Regions from separate parts of the Homo sapiens genome. Here all the other regions are linked to region 1. The links are contacts of gene promoters, found by promoter capture Hi-C in blood cells and fetal thymus (Javierre and others, 2016). All regions are on one chromosome and are shown on one strand. The core of a region is centred on a gene start or on the middle of the fragment in contact, and the rest is flanking DNA. Distances in the headings are between cores, read along the strand shown. Region 1 holds the start of BMERB1 (bMERB domain containing 1). Region 2 overlaps MYH11 (myosin heavy chain 11). Region 3 overlaps MYH11 (myosin heavy chain 11). Region 4 has its middle 16 kb from the start of PDXDC1.

Region 1 (2,845 bases), core at 47-2,546:
CCAATTTATACTCCCACTAGCATTAGATAAAAGTTCAAATTATGCCAGGCATGGTGTCTCACATCTGTAACCCCAGCATTTTTGGACTCTGTCTCAAAAAAAAAATCCACATCTTTTACAACACATGATTGTTAGATTTTTTAGTTTTTGCCTATCGGATGATATATTCTTATTTACATTTTCATTTTCCTTATTACTAAGGGGGTTGAGCAGCTTCTCACATTAGGCCTTCCTCCTCTGCCCACATGACATGACTATTCATATTCTTTCCCTGTTTCCTACTGGGATATCATTTTCTTTTTTTCGTTTCTTTTCTTTTTTTGAGACGGAGTTTTCCTCTTGTTGCCCAGGCTGGAGTGCAATGGCATGATCTCGGATGACTGAAACCTCTGCCTCCCAGGTTCAAGCGATTCTCCTGCCTCAGCCTCCCGAGTAGCTGGAATTACAGGCCTGCGCCATCACAGCTGGCTAATTTTTGTATTTTCAGTAAAGATGGGGTTTCACCATGTTGGCCAGGCTAGTCTCAAACTCCTGGCCTCAAGTGATCCACCCACCTCGGCCTCCCAAAGTGCTGGGATTACAGGCATGAGCCATCGTGCCCAGGCACTGCCATGGTGTTTTTTGTTTGTTTGTTTGTTTGTTTTTAAAGATAAACCTCTGGGGTTTCTGGAAAGTAAAGCCCCATGCTCCAAACAGCTCTGCTATACCTGTGTGCAAAATATTTTCATCTCTCTCTCTCTCTCCCCAAAGTGCATGCAAACACATATGGAACTGACATAGGCATCCACTGTCGCACTTCAAATTAAACAGACGCACACGACAGATATTCTCACAGAAAAGCAGTCAGCCAAGCCCAGAACCCATAGATCTAGGTCCACACTCACGCCTCTGCATGCTCCCCAGAAAGACGGATGCATCGCCCGCAGGTAGAGACGGGCTCACCAATCCCACTCAAAACCCGCTGCCGGCTTACAGCTCGCAAGCCGCCCACAGTGCCAGCCCCATGCCAAGCATCACTAGGGGCTCTAGAATAGGCAGGGGCCTTGTTCTCACTTCCTTTGTGTTGCTTTTATTTTAGTTGTTTTGTTTGTTGTTTTTCTTAGAGTTATCACCTGCCCCTCTGTCTCCCTACCCAGCCCCCAAGCCTCCCCTCCAAGCCTCCACTGCGCATGTGCCGTGCATCCCTGCCCCTTCTGGGTACCCGTAGGCGCTCCCGGGCGCTGGCGGCGGCGGAGGAGAGGGAGCAGCGTCACGGGCGCCCGGCCCGTTAAAACGCTGCTGGCTGGAGCCACCTCCCTCCCTGCAGCCCGCAACGGGAATGGAGTAAAGGGAGACCCGTCGACCTGGCCACGGGGATCAGCGATGGAATTAAAGCAATCTTTGTCCACCCATCTGGAAGCCGAGAAGCCTCTGAGGCGCTATGGGGCGGTGGAGGAGACGGCTTGGAAAACGGAGAGACTGGGGAGAAGTGAGTACTGGGGCGGGGGGCGGGGGGCCGGGGACAGCTGGGGATCCATGCGCCTGCGCGGGTGGTCGCGGGAGCGCGAGGAACGCCAGCAGTGGACCCAGGGAAGCGCCCCCGCAGCGGGGCTGGCAGCTCAGGGGGATACGCAGCTCTGCGCAGCGACGCGCTCTCCCCGCGAACAAAAGGGGGGGACCCTCCGGGCTGAGCCTCACTGGGAGGGTTGGGAGATGGCCAGGCAGCTAAGGCAGGAGCCTGGGCTCGACTTAGGAGTCCCGGATCCGTCAGCTCGCAGCTGGTCCTGTGAAGTCGGGTCTCTCCCACAGCCCAGGGAGGAGGATCCTCTCTCCGCCTGGGATGCGCCAGGGCGCTGGAGACGCGGGACCGTCCTGGAAAGCGCCCACGTCCCTGGAGAGGGGGGAGTGTCTGCTGGTTTTCCGCTTGCTTTCCTACCCCCTGCGTGAGGTTTCGGAGCGCACCTGAAATTCCCAGCTTTTCCTCCCTCGCCTTCCTTGGGTCGGGGTGGGAGGCTTGGGGCGGCAAAAGGGTCAAAAGGCACACACCGTTCTCTTTTCTCTCTTGACTCAGTTAAAGTCTGCTTGGGCACAACTCTAGAAGGCAGTTTCGAAATAGACCGGCTGTATTTATTTACTGGTTCTCTCTGCGGTGTTTGGATGTCAACATTTCTAAGTAAACGAAGGATTTTGTTTTTCATTAATAGGATACAATAGTTGAAACTCCTGCCCTCAAAGTGTAGAGGCAGCGTCAGGGGCTCCAGGGTCACTGGAGGTCCCTGCAAACCCGGGGGCTCCCCAAAGCCGCTGCTCTCACATGGCTTGCCCACCAGGCTGGGAAGGAGAGGTCCTTCTCAGGGACCCGGCAGCTTCCTGCCTCGGCTCTGGGTCACTGCTCCGCGCTCTGCCCCAGCACGGATCTCTGAGCGATGTAGGGCTAAAGTATTGTGAATGTGATCTTATTCTGTCCTCACCTGGTGGAAAATTGTGTGTGCGCGCTTTCTTTCTCTATACCTGTAATTATGGATTTAGAAAATCTTCCTAGAAGGGCTCAACTGTGTTCTGATTCTGACGGGTTGAAGTTGAAATCACAATCCAATGTCTTAGTGGTTCATGGGCTAGGATGGATGTCATAGCACTGCCAACCTCTTTCCTTTTCTTTTTTTTTCTCCCTTTTTAACCTTGGTCTTTCTTTCTAGTTCATCCTTTCAAGACCCAATGACTTGGTGCTTTGGCATAATATCAGGGCGTCAGGGCTGAGGGTCTCTGTTTCTTTCTTTAATTTTTAAGTGCACATAGTGGGTGTCCATATTTATGGAATACATGAGATATTTTGATACAGGCATACAATGTGTAATAATCACATCAG
Region 2 (3,299 bases), core at 537-3,036, 300 kb after region 1:
CGCAAAGAGTTCCAACAACGGGAGAGTGATTTGACCTAGTCATTCTCAAATTATGCCGGAGAGAGCTGTTCTGCCATTGAAATCAAATAATGACAAGTTTCCTCCAGTCTTTTTTTTTTTTACAAAAGAAAAATCGCTATGTTGCCCAGGCGATCTGAAAGTCCTGGGCTCAAGCAATCCTCCCTCCTTGGCCTCCCAAAGTGTTAGGATTACGGGAGGCATGAGCCGCCATGCCTGGCCTTCCTCCAGTCTGCAGAGAAATTAAAGTGGATAGAATGATCCCAGTTTTAAGTTTCATTTAAATCTCCCCGAAAGTGTTGTTACACCTTTGCTTATCCCTGAAGGGCAGTATATTGATAGGCCCCACCCATCCTATAGGCCTTCAGTCCTGTAGAGGCCAGAAAGTGGGGTCTAGGACCAGACTGTTTGGGTGCAAATCATGGCTCTGTCACTTACCAGCAGTGTGACCTTGGGTAAGTCTCTTCACCTCTAGGCACCTAGGACCTCAGTTTCTTTGCTTGTAAAATGAGTTTAATAGTACACGTCTCACAGGGTGGTTGTGAAGATTAATTGACATACTGTATGAGAAGCATTTCTATTCATTCTTTTTTTTTTTTCTTTTTTTGAGATGGCGGCTCACTCTGTCGCCCAGACTGGAGTGCAGTAGCACGATCTGAGCTCACTGCAACCTCTTCCTCCTGGGTCCAAGTGATTGTCCTGCCTCAGCCTCCCGAGTAGCTAAGATTACAGGCACATGCCACCACACCCAGCTAATTCTTTATATTTTTGGTAGAGATGGGGTTTCACCATGTTGGCCAGGCTGGTCTCGAACTCCTGAGCTCAAGTGATTTGCCCGCCTTGCCTCCCAAATTGCTGGGATTACAGACATGGTGAGCCACCGTGCCCAGCCTATTTTTATTGTTTGATTAAGGTCTCACTGTGTCGTCCAGGCTAGAGTGCAGTGGCATGACAGGGCTCACTGCAGCCTCAACCTCCCAGGCTCAAACGATCCTCCCACCTCAGCCTCCCAAATAGCTGGGACCACAGGAATGCACTACCAGGCCTGGCCAATATTTTATTTTATTTTATTTTTTTGAGATGGAATCCTGCTCTGTTGCTCAGGCTGGAGTGCAATGGCATGATCTCTGCTCACTGCAACCTCTGCCTCCTGGGTTCAAGTGATTCTCCTGCCTCAGCCTCCCGAGTAGCTGGGATTACAGGCATGCACCACCGCGCCCGGCTAATTTTTTGTATTTGTAGTAGAGATAGGGTTTCGCCATGTTGGCCAGGCTGGTCTCGAACTCCTGACCTCAGGTGATCCACCCAGTTTGGCCTCCCAAAGTGCTGGGATTACAGGCTTGAGCCACCACGCCTGGCCTACTTTTTTAAAATTTTAGTAGAAACAAGGTCTCACTATGTTGCCCAGGCTGGTCTCCAACTCCTGAGCTCAAGCGATCCTCCCGCCTCAGCCTCCCCAAGTACTGGGATTACAGGCGTGAGCCACCTCACCCAGCCTGTATGGGAAGCATTTTGTAAATAAATATAAGCTGCTATCATCATCATTAGAATCTTATGTAACTTGTTTTTTGTCTTTATGCAGACCCTGACCTGTAGTAATTTGAGGCTGCTGATGTCACTCTTATGTGTCATCACCAAAAAGCATCACCAAAAAGCATTACCCTCTTGAACTGCTCAAGCTGCTCTGTGAGCTCCTCCACCGCCTGTGCGTGTTTCTGCCTCATCTCCTGGACCTGAGCCTCATGGGACCGCGTCTCTTCATCCAGGGCCTTCTTCAGCACCGTCACCTCCTGCTCCCTCTTGGCCCTTGGTGGGAGGAACACAGTGAATGGCAGTTGGGTGGAGACAGAGGGTCATCTCAGTGCCGTGCAAAAGAATGAGAGCTCTTCCAGGACCCAGAGCTGCAGTCCTCATCACCACCCCTCTCTAGCTGTGTGACCTTGGGTCATTCACCTAACATCTCTGGACCTAAAATTTCCTCAGCTGCAAAATGTGGAGCATATCACCTGCCTAGGACATCTGTAATGACTGGCAAACAAATACACAAAGTAATAGAATTGAAAGGATGTCTGTGAACTGCAAAATTTTGCTTAAATATTAATGTTGGCTCTTATTTAATGAGCAGTTACTATATGCCAGGCCCTGAGCTAAGTTTTTTATATACATCATCTAATCCTCAGAGCAACCCAAAGAGGCAGGTGTGTTATTATTTCCATTTTACAAATGAGGAAACTAAGGCTAAGAGAGGGTAAGCAGTTTTACCCATGGTGTCACAGCCATTGTGTGATGGAGCCAGAATTAGAAGCTAAACCTTGACCTTGAGTCCATGGTTTTGTTTGTTTGTTTTTGAGATGGAGTTTCACTCCTGTTGCCCAGGCTGGAGTGCGACAGCGCAATCTTGGCCCCCTGCAACCTCCACCTCCCGGGTTCAAGCGATTCTCCTGCCTCGGCCTCCTAAGTAGCTGGGATTACAGGTGCCCACCACCACGCCCGGCTAATTTTATATTTTTAGTAGAGATGGGGTTTCAACATGTTGGTCAGGCTGGTTTCGAACTCCTGACCTCAGGTGATCCACCCGCCTCAGCCTCCCAAAGTGCTGGGATTACAGGTGTGAGCCACCGCACTCAGCCTGGTTTTTTGTTTTGTTTGTTTGTTTTTCTTATCGAGTCTTGCTCCGTCGTCCAGACTGGAGTACAGTGGAATGATGTCAGCTCACTGCAACCTCTGCCTCCCAGGTTCAAGGGATTCTCCTGCCTCAGTCTCCCAAGTAGCTGGGATTACCGACGCCCACCACCACGCCCGGCTAATTTTTGTCTTTTTAGTAGAGACAGGTTTTCATGATGTTGGCCAGGCTGGTCTCGAACTCCTGACCTCAGGTGATCTGTCTGCTTCAGCCTCCCAAAGTGCTGGGATTACAGGCATGAGCCACCATACCTGGCCCATGCACTGGGCTCTTCTGTATCAAAGGCCAAGCGGCAAGGGAGCAGAACGCTGTGCTCTATGTGCATGTGACACTGCACAAAACCCAAAGTGGGGGAAGTAAACCCCAGGGTATATGGTGTTGGCACAGCTAGCATAGCTATATGCTATGATACATGCTATGCCAACACCACAGATTGCATCAAAATACATTTATGTGTTTACTGAATGAATCAATGACCTAGTTTCACTAGAGTCAGGATTCGTGATCTGGCAGGCAGTTTGTTATTGTTTGTTCATTTGAAGTGAATCTTCAATTGAAAACCAATCTGATCAATTTTATTTTTAAAATTTAACACAAA
Region 3 (3,042 bases), core at 455-2,954, 320 kb after region 1:
ATTCCATCACCATCATCAGCTGTATGTTTACCTCTCCCCGTGTCTCCCATAACCTCAGCACTACTGGCATCTTGTAGGGATTCTGTGCTGGGGGTTGAGGGACCATCCTGTGCATTGTACAATGCTTAGGGCATCCCTGGCCCCTACCCACTAGATGCTGACTAACAGCCCCCTCCTGGTTGTGACAACCAAAAATGTCTGTAGCATGTCCATATAGAGGACACAATCGCCCCAAGCTGAAGATGCCTGCACCAGATTATGAGAAACCCACAGGGAAGGGCTACAATTTTTCTAACACTGCTCCCCAGCACCCAGGACAGGGCAGAGCCCAGTGAATACTTCCTGGGATAATGAATGAATGAGTGGCTGGATGACCTGCACAGCAACTCCACAACTGAAAAGTCTCTGGATGCATCCTCCCTTCCTCCTTTTCCTCCAGGGATGGGGAATGGGTCTGAGATTCAGATAGCCTTCCCCACATGGAAAATGGGGTCCTCGGGGTAGGTGGGGGCAGAGGGCGCCCTGGGGACGCTGTGACCGCTTGGGACAGCCCTGGCTTCTGGGAGCCCCAGGGTCTGGGCGGCGGGCCTCACCCTCTTCTCGTGGTTGGGGATGATGCAGCGCACGAAGTTGGGCGTGGTGTTGCGTAGCGTGGTCATCAGCTTGCCCAGCTGCTCCTTGTACAGCTGCCCCACTGTGCGGAACATGCCCTTCTTGGTCTTGGAGGCGCTGGGCAGCGAGCTCTCCGTCATCTTGGCCATCTGGTCCAGGCCCACGATGCGGTCCACTATGGGGCACAGCCAGGGTGGCATCAGCCTCTGGCCCACCCACCCCTAAATAGGCCAGAGGCTCAGCCCCAGCCCCACCCACCAACCTGCCCACTCCAATCTTTCCTTCCATCACCAACGCCTCCTTCGGCAGTCAGGGTTTCCAAGTATTGTCTATTGGGGAAATCCTGAGAGCACCTGAGTGGCAGAAAGAACAAATTCCCTGTGATGGAGTCACGCTGACCTAGGAGTCAAGCCTGCTCTCGCTGTCCACTCACTGACTAGCCTTGGCTTGGCACTATCCTGTGCCTCAGTCTCCCTTTCTACAAAAGGGAGGTAATAATACCGTCTACCTTCTAGGGCAGGGGTAAAAAAAAATAAGGCACAGAAGGCACTTATTCCCTGCCAGCCTCCAATCTTTCATCCACCAACAAATAGTTATTGAGGACCTTCTGTGCTCCAGGCCCTGGGGACACTGCTGTGAACAAAAAAAGACCCGGCCCCCTCACCCCGCTTATATCACAGGGAAGGAGACAGACAGAGATCACAGATGTTAAGTATGGAATATCTTGAGTAGTGAGGTGTGCGTAGAAAAATAAAAATAGGGTAAAGCGGAGAGAGAGTGAAGAGGGTGCTCTCTTAGACAAGGAGGTGGTGGGCTCTGCTAAGTTGATATTTGAGCAGAAACCAGCAAGAAATGAGTGGGTAACCATGTAGGTATCCACGGAAGAAATATTCTGAGGCAGAAGATACAGCACACACTCCGAGATAGCCTGGCACATCAGTAAGTGCTCAACAAAAAGTAGGTATTATTATTATTATTATTATTATTATTATTATTATTATTATCATTATTTTATTTTATTGAGACGGAGTTTCACTCTTGTTGGCCAGGCTGGAGTGCAATGGCGTGATCTCGGCTCACCACAACGTCCGCCTCCCGGGTTCCAGCAATTCTCCCGCCTCAGCCTCCCAGTAGCTGGGATTACAGGCATGCGCCACCACGCCCGGCTCATTTTTTTTATATTTTTAGTAGAGACAGAGTTTCTCCATGTTGGTCAGGCTGGTCTCGAACTCCTGACCTCAGGTGATTCCCCTGCCTTGGCCTCCCAATGTGCTGGGATTACAGGCGTGAGCTACCGCGCCCGGCCATCATCATCATCATCATCATCATCATCATCATCACCTCCAAGGTTCTTTTTCTACCAGCCCAGCAGGTCCTGCACATGCCAAGCCCAACCCACAGGCCATGGATGGCACCATTTCTTCACCTTCTACTCAGATTCTGTGTAACAATCTTTTTTTTTTTTTTTTTTTTTTGAGACAAGCTCTCACTCTGTCGCCCAGCTGGAGAGCAGTGGCACGATCTTGGCTCACTGCAACCTTCACCACCCAGGTTCAGGTGATTCTCCTGCCTTAGCCTCCTGAGTAGCTGGGATTACAGGCACCCACCAGCACACCCGGCTAATTTTGTTTTTATTTTTTATTTTTAGTTTTATTTTTTCAAGACAGAGTCTTGCTCTTTTGCCCAGGCTGGAGTCCAATGGCACAATCTCAGCTCACTGCAACCTGCGCCTCCCAGGTTCAAGCAGTTCTCCTGCCTCAGCCTCCCGAGTAGCTGGGATTACCACCACCACGCCCAGTTAGTTTTTGTATTTTTAGTAGAGATGGGGTTTCGCCACGTTGGCCAGACTGGTCTCGAACTCTTGACCTCAACTGATCCTCCTGCCTCAGCCTCCCAAAGTGCTGAGATTACAGGTGTGAGCCACCATGCGCAGCCTCATGCTTGTCTCTCTGCTTGTCTTTGAGAGTCTCATCTCTCCCACAAGACTGTGGGTCCCGCAGAGGAGGGACTACAGGCTTCATCATGTGTCCTGGGATGACACAGACCCAGGGTGCGATGTTGTTCCCTAGGCCCAGAGCCTGGCATATGGTTAGGGCACAGCTGGCCCCTCCTGGAGCCCTTTTTTTAGCATGCTTAAAACAAGGGGAGACCAGTCCTGTAAGCCCCAGGCCCATGGGCCCTGTGCCAAGAATAAAACCTGCTGTGGACACTGATGGCCAGGGACAAACAGCAAACCCCCTCCCCTCATCATCACTCCAGCAGCTCTTCACAGGGATCATCTATTCACTGGTTCTCAAAGGGAGCCGGAGTGTGGTCCCTAGACCAGCAGCATCACCTGGGATGAATGTTTTCAGGCCCGCCCCATCCCTGGCCCCAGACCTGCAGAATTAGATCTTAGGGTAGGCCCAGCCATCTGGGTTTTAAAAAGCC
Region 4 (3,162 bases), core at 1-2,500, 480 kb before region 1:
TCCGGAGTAAACTTCTGTTAGATTTCTCCCAGCTGGGCAGGCTTCCAGCTCACCAAAACATCTCCTTCTTTGCTTTTTACTTATATCCCCCTTGTATCATTTTTCCATGGCTGAGGTAACAAATTACCACGAATTTAATGGCTTAAAAGAACACAAACTTCTTGTCTTAGAATTTGGGGTGTCAGAGTCTAAAATGGGTCTGCAGGACTGCATTCCTCCTGGAGGTCCTAAAGGAGAGTTCATTTTCTTGCCTCTTCCAAGCTTCTAGATGCTCCCTGCACTCCTTGGCTCCCCATCCAACATCTTCAAAGTCAGCAGCATAAATCTTCCCATCTCCCTTTCTCTCTCTTTTTTTTAGACAAAGTCTTACTCTGTCACCTAGGCTGGAACGCAGTGGTACAGTCATAGCTCACTGCAGCCTCAAACCCCGAGGCTGAAGTGATCCTCCCGCCTCAGCCTCACGAGTAGCTGGGACCACAGGCATGCACCACCATGCCTGGCTGATTTTTAATTTTTTATAGAGACAGGCTCTTGCTATGTCACCAGGGCTGTCTTGAATTTGGGAGCCCGCGATCAGAAGCCAGCATGGTCGGCAGCTCCCTACACCACGTCCGGGCTTCCCGGGCCTCCAGCTGCCCCCTGCGCCGCCGCCGCCTCCCGCACCTGCACGTGGCCACTCCAGATGCTCCGGAGGGATTGAGCACCCCGCGCACACCCAGCTCACACCATCCAATCCGGAGGCCATGGGCCGACATGGGGGCTGAGCGTTTGAAATGAGCCCGGACCACCAGATGCATGGGTCCGTTCACACGAAATACCCAGAACAGGCAAAGCCACAGAGGCAGAAAGTATGGGGTTATTTATTTTAATTAATTAATTAATTGTTTTGAGACGTAGTCTCCTCTGTCGCCCAGGCTAGAGTGCCGATCCCTATGTTAGCTTGATGTGGTGGCTCATATCTGTAATCACAGCACTTTGGTAAGCTGAGGCGGGAGGATCGCTTGTCAGGCCAAGAGTTCAAGACCAGTCTGGGCAAAATAGTGAGACCCCCCTGCTATGGTTTGGATTTGGGTCCCTGCCCAAATCTCATGCCGAATTATAATCCCCAGTGTTAGGGGAGGGACCTGGTGGGAGGTGATTGGATCATGGGGGGAGAGTGCCTCCTTGCTGTTCTCCTGATAGTGAGTGAGTTCTTATGAGATCTGGTTGGTTTAAAAGCATGTAGCGCTTCCCCCTTCTCTCCCTTCCTCCTGCTCCAGCTATGTAAGATGTGCGTGCTTCCCCTTTGCCTTCCGCCATGATTCAAAGTTTCCTGAGGCCTCCCAGCCATGCCTCCTGCACAGCCTGTGGAACTGTGAGTCAATTAAACCTCTTTTCTTTATAAATTACCCAGTCTCAGGGAGTTCTTTATAGCAATGCAAGAACGGACTGATACAACCTCCATATCTACAAAAAAAAAAAAAAATTGTTTTAATTACCTGAGCATGGTGGTGCACACCTGTAGTCCCAGCTACTCTGGAGGCCAAGGCAGGAGGATCACTCCAGCCTGGGCAACAAGAGCGAAATTCCGTCTCAGAAAAAAAAAAAAAAATTAAAAAATTTAAAAAACGTAAAGAAAAAAATTATTTTGCTAAATCTGGCAAAGCCAAAGGGATGAAACTGACATTTACTGGGCACCTTCTGCACAAGTCAGTTCTCCTAGGAACCCAGAGAGGCAAGGGATTGGTAGCAATCTCTAGAGGCAAATATCCTCTAATATCCATGGTGTTCTTTGTGGAGCAGCTCAATGGATTTACTTAATGGGAAATGAAAGAAGGAAAAATGAAGACTTAGAAGGCTTCGATGATTTCCAATGCATTACTGTATACTTATCTCTTCTTAGAAGCAATAGAAAAAAAAATCAGGAATTAAAGACAATCTATTACTCAAGCAAATGCTAAAGGCCTCCCATGGTCTTCAAACAAGAAGAGATGCTCTAAGATAAATTACTTCATTACGTTGATGCTTCATCATCCGTGGAAGCTGTGACTCAGAGCCCTGCAGCAATAATTAGGCAGTGCGTTCATGTCCCGTTAATGTCCCCAAACAGTGGGAGATGAATGGAGAACATAGGGCTGTGTTCGAATGAAAAAAGGGTTTTGTTCGGCGCTCTTTCAGCAGGGAATAAGTACTGATGTGGGAACTGAGCTTCTGTTTACAACTAAGGATCACATTAAAAATATATTAAGATGACTACAGTAAAGCTTATTGTAGCTATTATTATTTCATTTAAATGAATCCCAGTTTCATAAGAACCACCAAGGGGGCTACCATGTCTAAAATGTAACTTCTCTGCGAATCCTGAAATTTCTACTGACAAAAGACTACGATGCACAATTAATTAATTAATTAATTAATTAATTTGAGATGGAGTCCCACTCTGTCACCCAGGCTGGAGTGCAGTGGCACGATCTCAGCTTGCTGCAACCTTTGCCTCCCGGGTTCAAGCGATTCTCTTGCCTCAGCCTCCTGAGTAGCTGGGATTACAGGCATGCGCCACCACGCCTGGCTAAATTTTTTCGTATTTTTAGTAGAGATGGGGTTTCGCCATGTTGGCCAGGCTGGTCTAGAACTCCTAACCTCAGGAGATCTGCCTGCCTCGGCCTCTCAAAGTGCTGGGATTACAGGCGTGAGCCACCATGCCCGGCCAACACGCAACATGTTTAAGACCAAAAGGACTGTTTTGCAATGAAGCAGATGAATCAACCAGTAAGGCCAACCCCTCAAAAAATGTAGCACTGAAGTTTCTTCAACATCTGCCTCTGAGACTTGTTCATATGTGCAGACACAGAGCAGGAAACTAAAGCAACTGCCTTCCTCTTTGTCACCTGAAATGAGAATGGAGAGAGGCTGGCAAGGAAATGATATGTAATCTTCCCTCCTTCCTGATTTTCTTTTCTATCCTTTTTTTTTTGAGTTGGAGTCTCGCTCTGTCACCCAGGCTGGAGTGCAGTGGCACAATCCCAGCACTTTGGGAGGCTGACGGGGGTAGATTACTTGAGGCCAGGAGTTTGATACCAGCCTGGCCAACATGGTGAAACCCCATCTCTACTAAAAATACAAAAAATTAGCCAGGCGTGGTGGCATGTGCCTGTAATCCCAGCTACTTGGGAGGCTGAGCAT

The links. Contacts are between HindIII fragments. The CHiCAGO score rates a contact against its expected background, and 5 or more counts as called.
Region 2: a contact is called between a fragment that was not itself captured here and the fragment with the promoter of BMERB1 in region 1, in 2 of 17 cell types (neutrophils and M0 macrophages). The highest score is 6.2, in neutrophils.
Region 3: a fragment that was not itself captured here is called in contact with the fragment with the promoter of BMERB1 in region 1 in 2 of 17 cell types (neutrophils and M2 macrophages); the score reaches 6.9 in neutrophils.
Region 4: a contact is called between a fragment that was not itself captured here and the fragment with the promoter of BMERB1 in region 1, in 1 of 17 cell types (M1 macrophages). The highest score is 6.8, in M1 macrophages.

Annotation. Positions count from the first base shown.
Region 1 is chr16:15,433,292-15,436,136 of GRCh38, forward strand. BMERB1 (bMERB domain containing 1) reads left to right here and starts at 1,297. Exons shown (of 6, transcript NM_033201.3): 1 at 1,297-1,468. The coding sequence starts at 1,363. The region is part of intron 1 of MPV17L-BMERB1 (MPV17L-BMERB1 readthrough); the gene reads left to right. RefSeq lists an enhancer at 1,601-2,223. The HindIII fragment of the contact is 15,111 bases long and covers 1-2,845 here.
Region 2 is chr16:15,730,885-15,734,183 of GRCh38, forward strand. It overlaps MYH11 (myosin heavy chain 11), which reads right to left. Exons shown (of 41, transcript NM_002474.3): 27 at 1,680-1,824. Among named protein-coding and RNA genes, the nearest start is that of NDE1, 82 kb to the left of the region's middle. The HindIII fragment of the contact is 3,974 bases long and covers 1-3,299 here.
Region 3 is chr16:15,749,545-15,752,586 of GRCh38, forward strand. It overlaps MYH11 (myosin heavy chain 11), which reads right to left. Exons shown (of 41, transcript NM_002474.3): 16 at 594-787. Among named protein-coding and RNA genes, the nearest start is that of NDE1, 100 kb to the left of the region's middle. The HindIII fragment of the contact is 3,541 bases long and covers 1-3,042 here.
Region 4 is chr16:14,957,124-14,960,285 of GRCh38, forward strand. No RefSeq gene overlaps it. Among named protein-coding and RNA genes, the nearest start is that of PDXDC1, 16 kb to the right of the region's middle. The HindIII fragment of the contact is 1,982 bases long and covers 260-2,241 here.